Regions from separate parts of the Homo sapiens genome. Here regions 1 and 2 are each linked to region 3. The links are contacts of gene promoters, found by promoter capture Hi-C in human tissues and cell types (Jung and others, 2019). All regions are on one chromosome and are shown on one strand. The core of a region is centred on a gene start or on the middle of the fragment in contact, and the rest is flanking DNA. Distances in the headings are between cores, read along the strand shown. Region 1 overlaps ZNFX1 (zinc finger NFX1-type containing 1). Region 2 overlaps STAU1 (staufen double-stranded RNA binding protein 1). Region 3 holds the start of SLC9A8 (solute carrier family 9 member A8).

Region 1 (4,489 bases), core at 1,220-3,719, 560 kb before region 3:
CTGACAAGGCTGACACTCCTGGAAGCAAACAAGGGGACACCGGTGCCCTTCCTGACAGATGACCTTCTGGCATGGCTTCATGCATTGGAACTCCTTGTGTGAAGAGTCATAAGGGTGGCAGGCACGGGTGCAGACATGCCCACAGCCCAGGCGGAACTCGCAGGGCAGGCTGCAGCCTCCTTCGGGTACTTTTTGGAAGTCAGAAGCTTTGGATACTAAGGTGTGGGTTTCAGGGTGGTTCTGGCAGCAGAGCCGGAGCATGGGGCCTATTTGATTGTTCTCTCGAAGTGTATGAATGATCTTGCTCCACAGGGGCACCTTGGCCAGCATCTGCATGTTTCCGATGCAGTACATTCCCTTCTTGGCTCGGGACAAGGCCACACAGATGCGGTTGGATATCTGCAGAAAACCCACCTTGCCTTCTTGGTTGCTCCGCACTAGCGAGAGGAGGATGATGTCATTCTCTTCCCCTTGGTATTTGTCCACAACATGGACCCTGACGCCAGCAAATGTCTTGGCAGGCATCAGTTTGCGCAGGCAGAAGAGCTGCCCGGTATAGGTAGTGAGGATGGTGATCTGGGAAGGCAGGTATTCCTGGCACAGGAAGTACTTGCACAGCTCTACCACAAAGTGAGCCTCATGCTGGTTCTGATGGCTTTTGCCCTCTTGGATTTCCTGTTCAGGAAAGTTGTGTTCTACAAAGAAAAGGTTGGAAGACACCCCCTGACAGGGAAAAGAAGTGACATGTTAAAAGGTTCACTCATGGCACTTGTTTTTTTCTTCCTCTCTTGACATGCACTGGCCACTTACTCTGCTCCAGAGAGAGACCTTGGAAAGCTTTTTGTCCACTCAACATCACTATCTTTAGTTCTTTAGTTAGTCATTGTGTGCTTCATTTTGGGGCCACAGCAAGTTATGAAAATAAAAGATTATGTCTCTTTCAGTTTTCAAGATACTTGTTTGATGTTAATATTTAAAAAAGCTGGCTGGGTACAGTGGCTCACGTCTGTAATCCCAGCACTTTGAGAGGCCGAGGTGGGTGGATCACCTGAGGTCAGGAGTTTGAGACCAGCCTGGCCCACATGGTGAAACCCCGTCTCTACTAAAAATACAAAAATTAGCTGGGCGTGGTAGTGGGCGCCTATAATCCCAGCTATTCAGGAGGCTGAGATGGGAGAATAGTTTGAACCCAGGATGCAGAGATTGCAGTGAGCCGAGATCATGCCACTGCACTCCAGCCTGGGTGACAGACAGAGTGAGACTCCATCTCAAAAAAAATAGAAAATAAAACAGCCATCCACAATCCAACCATTATAGCTGAAAGAACAAGCAGTGCTGTGAGGAGGATGATGATAATGACAGAGCAGCTAACTTACTGAGCACTCCACTGTGCTGACTGCTTTATATACATTACCTCCTTCCATACAGTAATGGGATATGGCAGGAGCCATTATTCTTATTGTCCAGAAGAACCTGATACTCAGAATTTATTTATTTATTTTAAAAAAAGAGACAGTCTTGCTATGTGCCCCAGCCTGGTTTTGAACTCTTGGCCTCAGCTGACAATTTTTTTTTTTTGAGACAGAGTTCACTCTTGTTGCGTAGGCTGAAGTACAGTGGCACGGTCTTGTTGGCTCACCACAACCTCCACTTCCCAGGTTCAAGCGATCCTCTCGCCTCAGCCTCCCAAGTAGCTGGGATTACAGGCGCCCACCACCATGCCCAGTTAATTTTTGTATTTTTAGTAGAGACGGGGTTTCACCATGTTGGCCAGGCTAGTCTCCAACTCCTGACCTCAGGTGATCCACCCATCTTGGCCTCCGAAAGTGCTGAGATTATAGGCATGAGCCACCACACCCAGCCAGGCACATGCCACCGCACCCAGCTAATTTTTGTATTTTTAGTAGAGATGGGATTTCACCATGTTGGCCAGGATGGTCTTGATCCCTTGACCTTGTGATTCGCCCGCCTCGGCCTCACAAAGCTCTGGGATTACAGGCGTAAGCCACCGCGCCTGGCCAGAATTCTTATATAACTTGCTTAAGGTTACATGGCTAACAGGCAGAATTGGGATTAAAAAACCCTGGTCTGTATTTCAATTTTCTCCCAGTAACCAGCTTTTAAAAAGCTGGCTCTACTCCCTTCTGAAGGCTTTCTTTTTTTTTTTGACAGGGAGTCTCTCTCCGCTGCCCAGCCTGGAGTGCAGTAGCATGGCACGATCTCAGCTCACTGCAACCTCCACCTCCTGGGTTCAAGCAATTCTCCCACCTCAGCCTTCTGAGTAGCTGGGATTACAGGTGCTTGCCACCATGCTCAGCTAGTTTTTGTATTTTAGTAGAGACAGGGTTTCACCATGTTAGTTAGGCTGGTCTCGAACTCTGACCTCAAGTGATCTGCCCACCTCAGCTTCCCAAAGTGCTGGGATTACAGGTGTGAGCCACCGCGCCTGGCCGCTGAAAAGCTTTTTTATCTTGAGGAAATTATAGCCTTTTTAGGTTGCTGACACCATCCAAGAAAGATCGGGTAAGACAGACTCACCTTAATCTTCTCATACTTAAGAACAGATGGATGATTCTCCAGATCCTGGTAAATGTGGGGGGTCAAAAGGCGGGCAATTTCAGGGCACATACGGTGCTGAAAAAACACATGCATGTCATTAGAAACATGGGCAGAGCACACACGGACAATTTCTTTAAAGATAAGGTTGCTGTTAGAAAATTTAGGGAGGGCCAGTTGTGATGGCTTGTATCTGTAATCCCATCACTTTGGGAAGCCAAGGCAGGAGGATCACTTCAGGTCAGGATTTCAAGACCAGCCTGGCAACATAGTGAGCCCTCATCTCTATTTTTCTTTCTTTTTTTTTTTTTTTTGAGACGTGTCACCAAGGCTGGGGTGCAGTGGCGCAATCTCAGCTCATTGCAACCTCTGCCTCCCAGGTTCTAGTGATTCTCCTGCCTCAGCCTTCCAAAAGTAGCTGGGACTACAGGCATGAGGCACCACGCCTGGCTAATTTTTTGTATTTTTAGCAGAGACAGTGTTTCGCCATGTTGGCGAGGCTGGTCACGAGCTCCTGAACTCAAGGGATCCGCCCGCCTTGGCCTCCCAAAGTGCTAGGATTAAGGTGTGAGCCACCACACCTGGCCTCTATTTTTCTTTTCTTTTTTTTTTTTCTGAGACAGAATCTAGCTCTATTGCCAGGCTGGAGTACAGTGGCATGATCTCGGCTCACTGCAACCACCGCCTCCCAGGTTCAAGCAATTCTCCTGCCTCAGCCTCCTGAGTAGCTGGGATTACAGGTGCCCACCACCATGCCCGGCTAATTTTTGCATTTTTAGTAGAGACAGGCTTTCACCATGTTGGCCAGGCTGGTCTCGAACTCCTGACCTCAGGTGATCTGCCCACCTTGGCCTCCCAAAGTGCTGGGATTGCAGGTGTGAGCCACCGCACCTGGCCTCTATTTTTCTTAAAAAAAAAAAGGAAAGAAAATCTAGAGAGATAGAGATTATCATTTGAAAAAAATAAGGAGAAAGCATAACATAAACAGCTCCTTTGTCCAACAAAAACTCAACACGGTGATCTTGTGGTGTTTTAAAACAGAAAATGTAAGGTTGACAGAGTCATTTCAGTATTAAATTATTTTTATTTATATGAGACCTCTTTTGCTGGCAACTGGCAGCTTCCCAGGAGCTTTCTCCTGGGCATTTGGTAACAACAGAGGCCCAGCTTCTCACCTGGTAATTCAGACGGACAAAGGGAATGTTTACTTTCACTAGCCGTTCAAAAAGGGACACCTCAAGGTTGAAGTTCTTGGCCAGATCATACACGTTGGCACTGGGGCGCAGCTGAGAAGAGAAACATGGCTGAGGATTCTCTACTGATAAAGTCATTTAACCATCCATACTTCCATCCATCCAACCAACCATCAAATGTTTTTCAAGTGTTGACTATGTGCCAGGCACTATTCTACATACTCACAGTTTAAGGATTAATAATGACAAGGGTTAAGGATTAGTAGAACTAAAGGTGATATGACAGAGTGCCCCATGGTGGGTTTTTTCTAGCTAGGCCTCTGAACAGTGACATCTGAGTAGACACTAGCATGGCAGAAGTTGCCAGTTCTTCAGTCATTTGAAAAGCAAGATCCATAATGGGGAGCGGAAAGGACACAGTGGGACACCAAGAGCAAATGGGATGAAGTCAGAGAAATAAGCTGAAACCTGATCACATAAGCCTTTGTGGGCCACTTTAAGAAGCTTGATTTTTATGCAAGTGCAATGGGACACCACTGGAGGGTTTTCAGCTGGAAAGTGATATTATCTATCTACCTTTTTTTTAAAAAAATTCACTTTGGCTCCTTTATGTAGAGTGCATTAAAAGGTAGCAAAAATGGAAGCAGAGAGACTGAGGAGCATGCTATTACAATACAGTCCACTCAAGAGGCCATGGTGGACTAGGTAAATAGCAGAGGGAATGGATGAAATAAATGACG
Region 2 (5,137 bases), core at 1,325-3,824, 660 kb before region 3:
ATAATCAGGTAATCTACAAATGCTGGGAATCATTGTCTTGCAGGAATCATGATGCTATGGGAATCATGTTTAAATATGATTCAGTTACACAAAGCAGTTACAAGGGTTATCTTTAGCCAGGCTGCTTGAGGGCACAAGCCACACTGCCAGCAAGAAATATGCTCAGGCCCTACCCAAGAGCAGTAGTTAAAGAAGCACAAAGGAGCCGGGCGTGGTGGCTCATGCCTGTAATCCCAGCACTTTGGGAGGCCGAGGTGGGCGGATCATGAGGTCAGGAGATTGAGACTATCCTGGCTAACAAGGTGAAACCCCGTCTCTACTAAAAATACAAAAAATTAGCCGGGTGTGGTGGCAGGCGCCTGTAGTCCCAGCTACTTGGGAGGCTGAGGCAGGAGAATAGCATGAACCCGGGAGGCAGAGCTTGCAGTGAGCCGAGATCATGCCACTGCACTCCAGCCTGGGCAACAGAGCGAGACTCCGTCTCAGAAAAAAAAAAAAAAAAAGAAGCACAAAGGGCCGGGTGTGGTGGCTCACACTTTAATCCTAGCACTGCGGGAGGCCAAGACAGGAGGACTCCTTGAGCCCAGAAGTTCAAGACCAGTCTGGGCAACATACGGAGACCCTGTCTCAATGAATTAAAAAAAAAAAAAAGAGGCGCAGCCAGGTGTGGTGGCTCACGCCTGTAATCCCAGCACTTTGGGAGGCCAAGGTGGGCAGATCATCTGAGGTCCGGAGTTCAAGACCACCCCAGCCAACATGGCAAAACCCCGTCTCTACTAAAAAATACAAAAAAAAATCAGCCAGGCGTGGTGGCAGGTGCCTGTAATCCCAGCTATTCGGGAGGCTGAGACAGCCTCCTCACTTGAACCCAGGAGGCAGAGGATACAGTGAGCCGAGACTGCACCACTGCACTCCAGCCTGGGTGACAGAGCAAGACTCTGTCTCAAAAAAAAAAAAAAAAAAAAAAAAAAAAAAAAGAAAGAAAGAAAAAAAAGAAAAGGCGGGGGAGGGGCACAAAGGCACAAGAGTAATTAAGACCAACTTCAACACTTGGCAGGCCCAAACCAAATCATTACTCCCTCCACAATCTAGAGGTACTGGTTTATGTAAAAGATCAGACACGTTTTCTCCTGTATTTTACAAAAAAAAAAAAAAAAAAACACATACCTCGGGGGATAAGCACCTCCTCTCATGTTGTAGTTATAGGTGGACTGCATCCGAGAGTAAGGGTCAACAGGCTTATACATTGGTTTTTTTCCAAGTTTCATGCACAGTGCATTTAGTTCTACAGTAGGGGTTATGCTTTCTGCAAGAAAGAATCGACAAAGAACTGTTTTTTTCTGGTATGAGAATGATACTCACTAAAATAAAATGTAATAGCATGCTTTCTGCTAATTGGATTCATGATACTTTACATAAAAGGACCTGGGTGGCTCACTGCTAGGCATCAGACAAGGAAATCCAAGAATATGCTGTGATTTCTAGATATTTATACACAGTCGACAGCACAAAATCTACTCTGAGGGTTACCAGAGGAGCCACAATTTAACCCAAGACATTATCAGTGAAAGCTATATGGTACAGCTGTCAGAAATAAGTTCCAAAACACATCAAATTTCACGATTAAAAAATCCCATGTAAATGTCCAAATTGTTTTACTGTTTGAGAATACTTAATCAATATAACCTTGGTTGTACTGATTTACAGGATTATTGGCTTGCACTCAGAAGTATGTCCGTACACAGTATTGAACGATGCATTTATTACATTACTAACTGGATGCAAAGCACTGTGCTAAGCTTAAGAAACACAATTCCTGGCCAGGCGTGGTGGCTCACGCCTGTAATCCCAGCACTTTGGGAGGCCAAGGCAGGAGGATCACAAGGTCAGGGTATCGAGACCATCTTGGCTAACATGGTGAAACCCTATCTCTACTAAAAAATACAAAAAATTAGCCAGGCATGGTGGCGGGTGCCTGCAGTCCCAGCTACTCAGGAGGCTGAGGCAGAAGAATGGTGTGAACCTGGGAGGCGGACCTTGCAGTGAGGGTGGCTCACACCTGTAATCCCAGCACTTTGGAAGGCCGAGGCGGGTGGATCACCTGAGGTCAGGAGTTCGAGACCAGCCTGGCTAACACGGTGAAACCCCGTTTCTACTAAAAATACAAAAAATTAGCCAGGCATGGTGGCGCATGCCTGTAATCCCATCTACTCAGGAGGCTGAGGCAGGAGAATCGCCTGAACCCAGGAAGCAGAGGTTGCAGTGAGTCGAGATTGCGTCACTGTACTCCAGATGAGGAAACAAGAGCAAAACTCTGTCTTAAAAAAAAAAAAGAAACACAATTCCTGCCCCAGAGGAGTTCAAAAAACACAAAGCACACTCAAAGAGTTACAATACAACATGATGTGCAACTTAAAGGTGAAAAATCAGTGAGGAGGTGGCAACCCAATTCTCTTCACAGAAGTCACACAAGGCCCACAAAATATTCAGGTATTTCCATTCTTGACATTTCTAATGAATTTGACCTGTGGTCATACTTGCTACGAAAATGAGTTCCATTTTCATACACAACAAGTTATCTCAAAATTATCAACTTCAGAAAATACATGCTATTCATTTTCCAATTTTTTTTTCTTTCAGTTCATCCAATCCATAAACCTTTAAAAACCATTTAAAAAGAAAACCAGCCTGGAAAGATTAGTGTCAGTGCACAATATTTAAAAACAACACTTTCATATCAAAAACAGAACACTAGAAATGGCAAAATCTAAATGCACATAAAAATCCACTTTAAAATGCCTCTTTAGGATGTATATAGAGAGAAATAAAAAAGACCTGATTCTGTACTATAACTGGTTCAACTAAATTTAATGCATGAATCAAATCTATAAGAATATCTTTGGGGTTTGCACAGAGGGCCACATGAATTACAGATCTCTCTCTTCCTTGCATTAGAATTATATTTTTTACAAAATTCATATAATTGCATTTTAAGTACAGTCTGAATCATTTTAAGAGCAGCTCTGATCCACAGAATTTGTCTGCAATAGAGAATAAACATGAAGAAAGTATACTGCAAAGAAATCAAAAGTAACAAGAAAGATGTGACTGGTAACTTCCCAGATTCCTTCCTACATACGAAGACCTGGGATGACTTCATGCATGTGAGGGGGTCTCTGCTAAAACAGCCATTAATGACACAGCCTCCAGGTCACTGATCCCCAACCCTTCACCAGCCATGCCTTCTTGATTAGTATGCTCCCTGAATGGGCTCCTTGTCTGAGGAGATACTACCTGCTGGCTTGTATTTAAGTAATATTTACATTTTTCTCATTCTTTTTAATAACTAAGAGACATACAACTGGCAATAAGCACTTCTGACCAACAAAATTACAATCAATATTACCACACTGACTTGATGTGACTCTAAATTAAACTTATATTCTTGCTAATCTATACACTCTTATCAAAAATATATTTTCATTAAACTTCGGAAATCTTTGAAATTATCTGGTCACCCGCCATCCTTCCTATGACCGCCTTTCCAGATTGTCAGGCGTTAAGGCATCATAGATTGGAAACCACTGCTTTACAATGAGGTTAAGGATTCCTAAAAAATAAGCATTTGTCACTGGTAGTGTAGAATCTGTGCTTTCAAAATCAACAAGTTAAGAAACCATTCATATACATACTACATGGTACCTCTAGACACACTTTTGAAAGGTACCTGTTTGGCCCATGCATAAGACCTGGATTCCTTCCTTCGCTACCAAAAGGGCTGACTATGGGCTTAGGAAATTTTGTTCCCTCCAAAGCTTTAGCAGCAGCTGTGTGTTTGACCTTTTTAATACCAGTTCACTCAGCTCCCCATTGCTGATTTCCAAGTGTCAGCAGTACTGTAAATTCCTAGAAATGAAAAGTGTGAGCTCTCAAATTCATGAAACCTGACATTGACTGTAATATGTCACTTGAACCTTGAACACTTTCTATGGTCATGGTTTAAGAGGCCTGGTCTTATCTTGATAATTCATCCTGTCATCCCCTTCTTATCCTTTTTTGTTGTTTTTTATAAACAACAACAAAAAAAAGAGATTGTGTGTGTATGCACTGAAATTTTTTTTTTTTTTTAAGAGACACAGTCTCACTCTGTCCCCAGGTTAGAGTGCAGTGGTGTGATCTTGGCTCAATGCAACCTCCACCTCCTGGGTTCAAGAAATTCTCCTGCCTCAGTCTCCCGAGTAGCTGGGATTACAGGCACCTGCCACCATGCCCGGCTAATTTCTGTACTTTTAGTAGAGACAGGGTTTCACCATGTTGGCCAGGCTGGTCTCGAACTCCTGACCTCAAGTGATCCACCTGCCTCAGTCTCCCAAAGTGCTGGGATTACAGGCATGACCCACCACGTCCAGCCTCAAAATTCTCTTCCAATTACTTCTCATGAAAGATATTTTGCAAACTTGATTTAAACACACAGCAGTACTTCACACAAATTAAGACAATGTTTGTTTTGATGCTGCAATGTGTTTGTGGGCTCTTGTTTGAAAACATAACCACCCTTTTTTTCAGTTTTTGAAATGGGGTCTTGCTCTGCTGTCCAGGCTGGAGCTCAAATGGCACAATCATAGCTCACTGCAGCCTCCTGGGTTGAAATAATCCTCCCACCTCAACCTCCTGAGTAGCTGGGACTACAGGCACACACCACCATACTTGGCTAATTTTTTTTTTTTATTTTTTTGAGACAGTCTTGCTCTGTCGCCAGGCTGGAGTGTAGTGGCATGATCTCAGCTCACTGCAACCTCCGCCTCCCAGGTTCAAGCGATTCTCCTGCCTCAGCCTCCTGAGTAGCTGGGACTACAGGCATGCACCACCACGCCCAGCTAATTTTTGAATTTTTAGTAGGGATGGGGTTTCACCATGTTGGCCAGGATGGTCTTGGTCTCTTGACCTTGTGAACTGCCCGCCTTGGACTCTCAAAGTGCTGGGATTACAGGCGTGAGCCACCATGCCCGGCCCATACCTGGGTAATTTTTTAATTTTTGCGGAGGCAGGGTCTCCCTATGTTGCCTAGGCTGGTCTTAAACTCCTGGGCTCCAGTGATCCTCTCGCCTCAGCCTTCCAAAGTGATAGGATTTAAGGC
Region 3 (4,824 bases), core at 2,228-4,727:
TGGCTCATGCCTGTTATCCCAGCACTTTGGGAGGCTGAGGCAGGTGGATCACTTGAGGTCAGGAGTTTGAGACCAGCCTGGCCAATATGGCGAAACCCCGTCTCTACTAAAAATACAAAAATTAGCTGGGCATGGTGGCACACGCCTGTAATTCCAGCTACTTGGGAGGCTGAAGCAGGAATCGCTTGAACCCAGGAGGCAGAGGTTGCAGTAAGCCGAGATCGTGCCACTGCACTCCAGCCTGAGTGACAGAGTGAGACTCCATCTTAAAATACAACAACAGGCCAGGCCTGGTGGCTCATGCCTGTAATCCCAGCACTTGGGGAGGCCAAGGCAGGCGGATCACGAGATCAAGAGATTGAGACCATGCTGGCCAACATGGTGAAACCCTATCTCCACTAAAAATACAAAAATTAGCAGGGCATGGTGGCACATACCTGTAGTCTCAGCTACTTGGGAGGCTGAGGCAGGAGAATTGCTTGAACCTGGGAGGTGCAGGTTGTAATGAGCCGAGATCGTGCCATTGCACTCCAGCCTGGGTGACAGACACTCCATCTCAAAAAAAAAAAAAAAAAAAAATCCAAAGAAGAATGGTATTTCATGACATGTGAAAGTAATGCAAAATTCAAATTTCAGTATCCATAAAGTTTTGTTGGAACACAGCTATGCCTATTTATATTATTTATGCTGCATGCAAACTACAGAGTTGATTTGTTGCTACAGAGATAGTAAGGCCCACAAAGCCTTCAGTATTTACTGTCTGACTCTTTACAGAGACTGGTCAGGGAGGGCTTCCCTGAGGAGGGGACATTTAAGCTGAGACATGAATAACAAGAAGACTGGAGATAGCGGGCAGAGCTGTCTAGGCAGAGACAATGGAGAGCAAAGGCAGTTTTCTCTCTAATCTTGTAACAGTCTTCTAAAGAGAAGCGTTATTAAAGAAAAAAAGAAAAAAAAATTGAGGGGGCCCTGAGGCTCTGAGGGTGCTGTAGCCTCTCAGGGTCACGGAGACTGTAGGTCCTGAGGAGGGGTTGGGAACCAGCACTGTCTGGCACCAGAATTTGTGGTGCCTTATGCTGCCTCCTTCTCGGCCTGACACAGCATTGGAGCCCAGAAACTGCATGTTGAATGGCTTTATTCACCTTCCTCGGGGAAGGACCAGGGATTTTAGATTCATTCTCAGGAATAGGTGAGAAGAGCCAAAGACTCACCCATGGGCATGAGAGAATGTTCTCTGCAGCCTCATGGTTAGTGGTAGGCCCAGAGGAGGCCAAGGGCAGTAGGCAAGACAACGGATAGAGAAGAGTAGTGAATTCCAGCTATGTGGAGTTTCCAGCTTGGCGAATTCCAGCCATGTGGGGTTTATTGGTGCTGGTAGAAAATGGTAGCCTCAAGCCCTCAGTTGACAAGTGTGGCCAGAGAGAACCCCACTCTCAATCCTTTGTAGACCAGGTCATTCCCGCCAGGCTCTGTGCTAACGGAGGAGAGTAGGTTATTAGTCCCATTTAAGAGCCAGAGAAATTAAGGCAGTGGAGAGTAGCAGGGCTACTGGTTTAAAAACACTGGCTCTGTGCCTGAATCCCAGCCTTGTCATTTGCTAGCTGTGGGACCGCAGGCAAGTGCCTTGATTTCTCTATGTCTGTGGATAATGATGGTATCTACCTCAAAGCTATGTAAAGAATTAAGGAAACAATAGCCCAACACCACACCTGCAGGAAGGAAGCAAGTTTATTATTACTCAATAAACATTGGTGGATCCTGATGACATTCTCTCAGTCAGCTTTAGCAGTCTTAAGAGACTGCAGAGGATGGAGAACCCAAGGTTAGAGCCAGATTTCTTCTCTACCCAGTTCCTCGGGGCCAAAACCCTGACACCATGCTTAACTCCTCTTTTATACGCCATAGTCCGTCAGCAAACCTTGTCTTCAGTATGCGTCCAGGAGTCCAACCATTCCTGCCACCTCCACCGTATTACTTTCATCCAGACTGCCATCAGCTGTCACCTAGATTATTGCAAAAGCCTCCTTGCTGGCTTTGGGGCTTCCATCCTCTCTCTCTCGCCAATCCCCAGTCAACTCCCAACAGGCAGCAAAGCTTAGGTTACTTCTCAGTTCAAAACCCTTCTAGGTGTGCTAGAATTAACTGATTTATTTACTCAATGATTATTTATTATTGAGTGTCTACTATGTGCCAGGTACTGTTGTAGGCATTGCAGATAAAATGGAGAACAAAACAGACAAAAATTTCTGCATTCATGAAGCTTCCGTTCTCATGGAGGGAGATGGTTAACAAACAAGTGTATGAGTAAAACATATGGTAGGTTAGGTGTCATGTGGAAAAATAGTTTAGGGAAGGCGGGGGGCCTTGGATTTTAAGTAGGGTGGTCAAGGAGGTCTAACACACAAGATAAGGGTTAAATAAAAGGCCAAACGTAGGAGAGGTGGGAGCCAAAGAGCTACCCAGAAGAAGAGCATTCTAGATAAAGGCTCAGTAAGTGCAACGGTGGAAGTATTCCTGGTGAGTCTGGGACAATAGTGGAAAGTCAAAGTGTGTGGGAGGGGAGATATAGAGCCCCATGCCCCCCTCCCACACACTTCAGAGGGGAAAAGGGGGCAGGATTGAGTCCTGTACATTCCCCACGTTTTTTTTTTCTCTGGAGATTGGAAGCCATTGGAGGGTCTAAGCAGAGGAGTGATGAGTTAAGCTGCTGTGTGGAAGTCCGTAAGGAACAGGGGTGAGTCAGAGACCCTGAATGGAGCCGTTGCAATTATCCAGATGAGATAGAGTGCCTTGGATCAGGAAGGGAGGTAGCAACAGAAGCGGCCAATAAAGTTCAAAGTCCTCAGCCCCAGTCCTCCCGATGGGGGTCTCACCTACCCCTCTCACCTCACCTTGTTCCTCCCTGCATCCCCACCCCACCGGTCACTGCTAGGCACATAGAAGCATCTACTAAGCATGTGGTGAATCAATGAACCCCTTAATGAATGGTCCACCCCTAGATCATCAGCATCCTTTTTAACGCTAGGCATATAGTCTGAACTCAACACATGTTTACAGATGGAATGCTGCACAGTCCTGCCAAGTCCAGGCGGTTATTCCTCTCCACAGCCGAAGGAAACTAAGGCTCGGGTGGGGAAGTGTCCCCCTGGGGTCTCTCCGCTTAGGCTGCAGGCTGGGCATCCTTTTTCAAACTCTTTTAGCACAGCGAAGTCGAGGGCACTGGGTGGAGGGTGCTTGCTTGCCCTCAGGGTGAGTCACAGTGACCTCAGAGGAGTTTCCCCAAAACGTCCCCGCCCTGTGATGGGGAAAAGCCGGAATCTCTCGGTCCCAGGTGGTCATGTGGCCCAGGCCGGACAAGCGTCCCGAAAGCCCCGGGAGAGACTAAGAAGCAATCCTCCCACGCGCTTTCTCCCACCCTCGGGCCACTGAGACGGAGGGACAGAGGGCCGCCCTCGCGCGGCCGAGGCCCCGCCTCCCGCTCGCCCGCCCGCGCCTCCAGCGGAAGCCGGAAGCAAAAGCGGGTCCTGCTAGCCCCGCGGCTCCGAACTCGGTGGTCCTGGAAGCTCCGCAGGATGGGGGAGAAGATGGCGGAAGAGGAGTGAGTGGGCTTTTTCCCGGGCGGCGGAGGCGGCGGGGCTGGGCCCCGGCGGGTGACAGCGAGCGCCTCAGGCCGCCCTCCGGCCCCGGAAGGCGGAGCTTCTTTTGCTGGTTGGCCAGGACTGACCAAGCCGGTGCCTACGAGGAGGGCGGGATGGGCGGGCCTGGGCCCAGGTGGGCCTTGCTTTCCCCTGGAGATCGGTCCCTCGAGCTGGGAATCTACTGCCCAGCGCAGGCCCGGAGAGCTGTCTTGCGGAAAATACAAACCATATTTACTTTCCCAGTTTTCGGTAATCTCATGGTTACTGAGCCCTCTTCCGCCTCCTCCAGGAAGTCGTCCGGGTTCTCCACACCCACCTCCTACGTAGCCAGTCGCCTCCTGTATAACGATCAGTTTTCATGTCTTTCTCCTTCACTAAGTTTCATTTAGTCATTAACTGTTAGCCATCTACTCAATTCCAGGCCCTGGGCAGGTGGTAGGAAAGGAGGCCGACCAGGAGCCGCTCTCTGGGAGCTTCCATTCTAGTGGGAAAAGAAGACCATAATTAGTCAAGGTGGTTTCAGATCGTGATTAATTAACGTTATTTGTGCCTAGTGTTCCATTATTGGAACGCTAAGCATGTGGGAGTTATTTATATCCTACTGCTCAAGGTCATCGCCAAGGTCTGATTTTTCTCACGTCTGCAGTTCTAAAAATTGCAACCTCTGGCATGAATGGGTTAAGTGTTCTGAAGGAAGCAAAATAGAGTTAAGGTTGGGGAGTCCACTCAGGAAAAAGTGACATTCAGCAGAAACTTGAATGACCAGAATGAGGGATAGGAGAAATAACATCAGGTTCAAAAGGCCTGGCTCAAGAAAGAGTTTAGTGCTTTTGAGTGACAGGCAGCATGGCTGGTGTGTAGAGAGGAAGGGGGTTAGCTGGACAAGGGGAGATGGGGAAGGACGGGCTGTGTCCTCCAGGTACTTTTGGGCAAGTCCAAAAGTCATCTCCATACCTGCAGGGCAGAGTCTGTTGCAGATTGTAGATGCCCTATCACTGTTTGTGGAATGAGTATGTGAAGATGAATAAGGAACCCCTTCATTGATACTGGAGTCCTTCACCTGATAACTTTTCAAATATATTTCTTGGCCATGTGGGGGTCATTTCATGTAATCAGTTATTTATTGAGCAGCTGCTCCATCCCAGACACTAAACAGCCTCAGCAGCACAAAATAAAAGAGGCAATA

Evidence for each region. The method cuts DNA at HindIII sites, captures the fragments that hold promoters and counts their contacts. A contact is called where the count stands out against the background at its distance.
Region 1: a contact is called between a fragment that was not itself captured here and the fragment with the promoter of SLC9A8 in region 3, in 3 of the 25 tissues and cell types used here (bladder, dorsolateral prefrontal cortex and heart right ventricle).
Region 2: a fragment that was not itself captured here is called in contact with the fragment with the promoter of SLC9A8 in region 3 in 1 of the 25 tissues and cell types used here (aorta).

Annotation. Positions count from the first base shown.
Region 1 is chr20:49,248,989-49,253,477 of GRCh38, forward strand. ZNFX1 (zinc finger NFX1-type containing 1) reads right to left here. Exons shown (of 14, transcript NM_021035.3): 12 at 3,732-3,842; 13 at 2,539-2,634; 14 at 1-723. Among named protein-coding and RNA genes, the nearest start is that of ZNFX1, 27 kb to the right of the region's middle. The HindIII fragment of the contact is 3,897 bases long and covers 522-4,418 here.
Region 2 is chr20:49,152,766-49,157,902 of GRCh38, forward strand. STAU1 (staufen double-stranded RNA binding protein 1) reads right to left here. Exons shown (of 14, transcript NM_017453.4): 4 at 1,168-1,306. Among named protein-coding and RNA genes, the nearest start is that of STAU1, 33 kb to the right of the region's middle. The HindIII fragment of the contact is 4,210 bases long and covers 470-4,679 here.
Region 3 is chr20:49,809,351-49,814,174 of GRCh38, forward strand. SLC9A8 (solute carrier family 9 member A8) reads left to right here and starts at 3,478. Exons shown (of 16, transcript NM_015266.3): 1 at 3,478-3,598. The coding sequence starts at 3,573. RefSeq lists an enhancer at 3,157-3,296 and a silencer at 3,447-3,726. The HindIII fragment of the contact is 14,619 bases long and covers 1-4,824 here.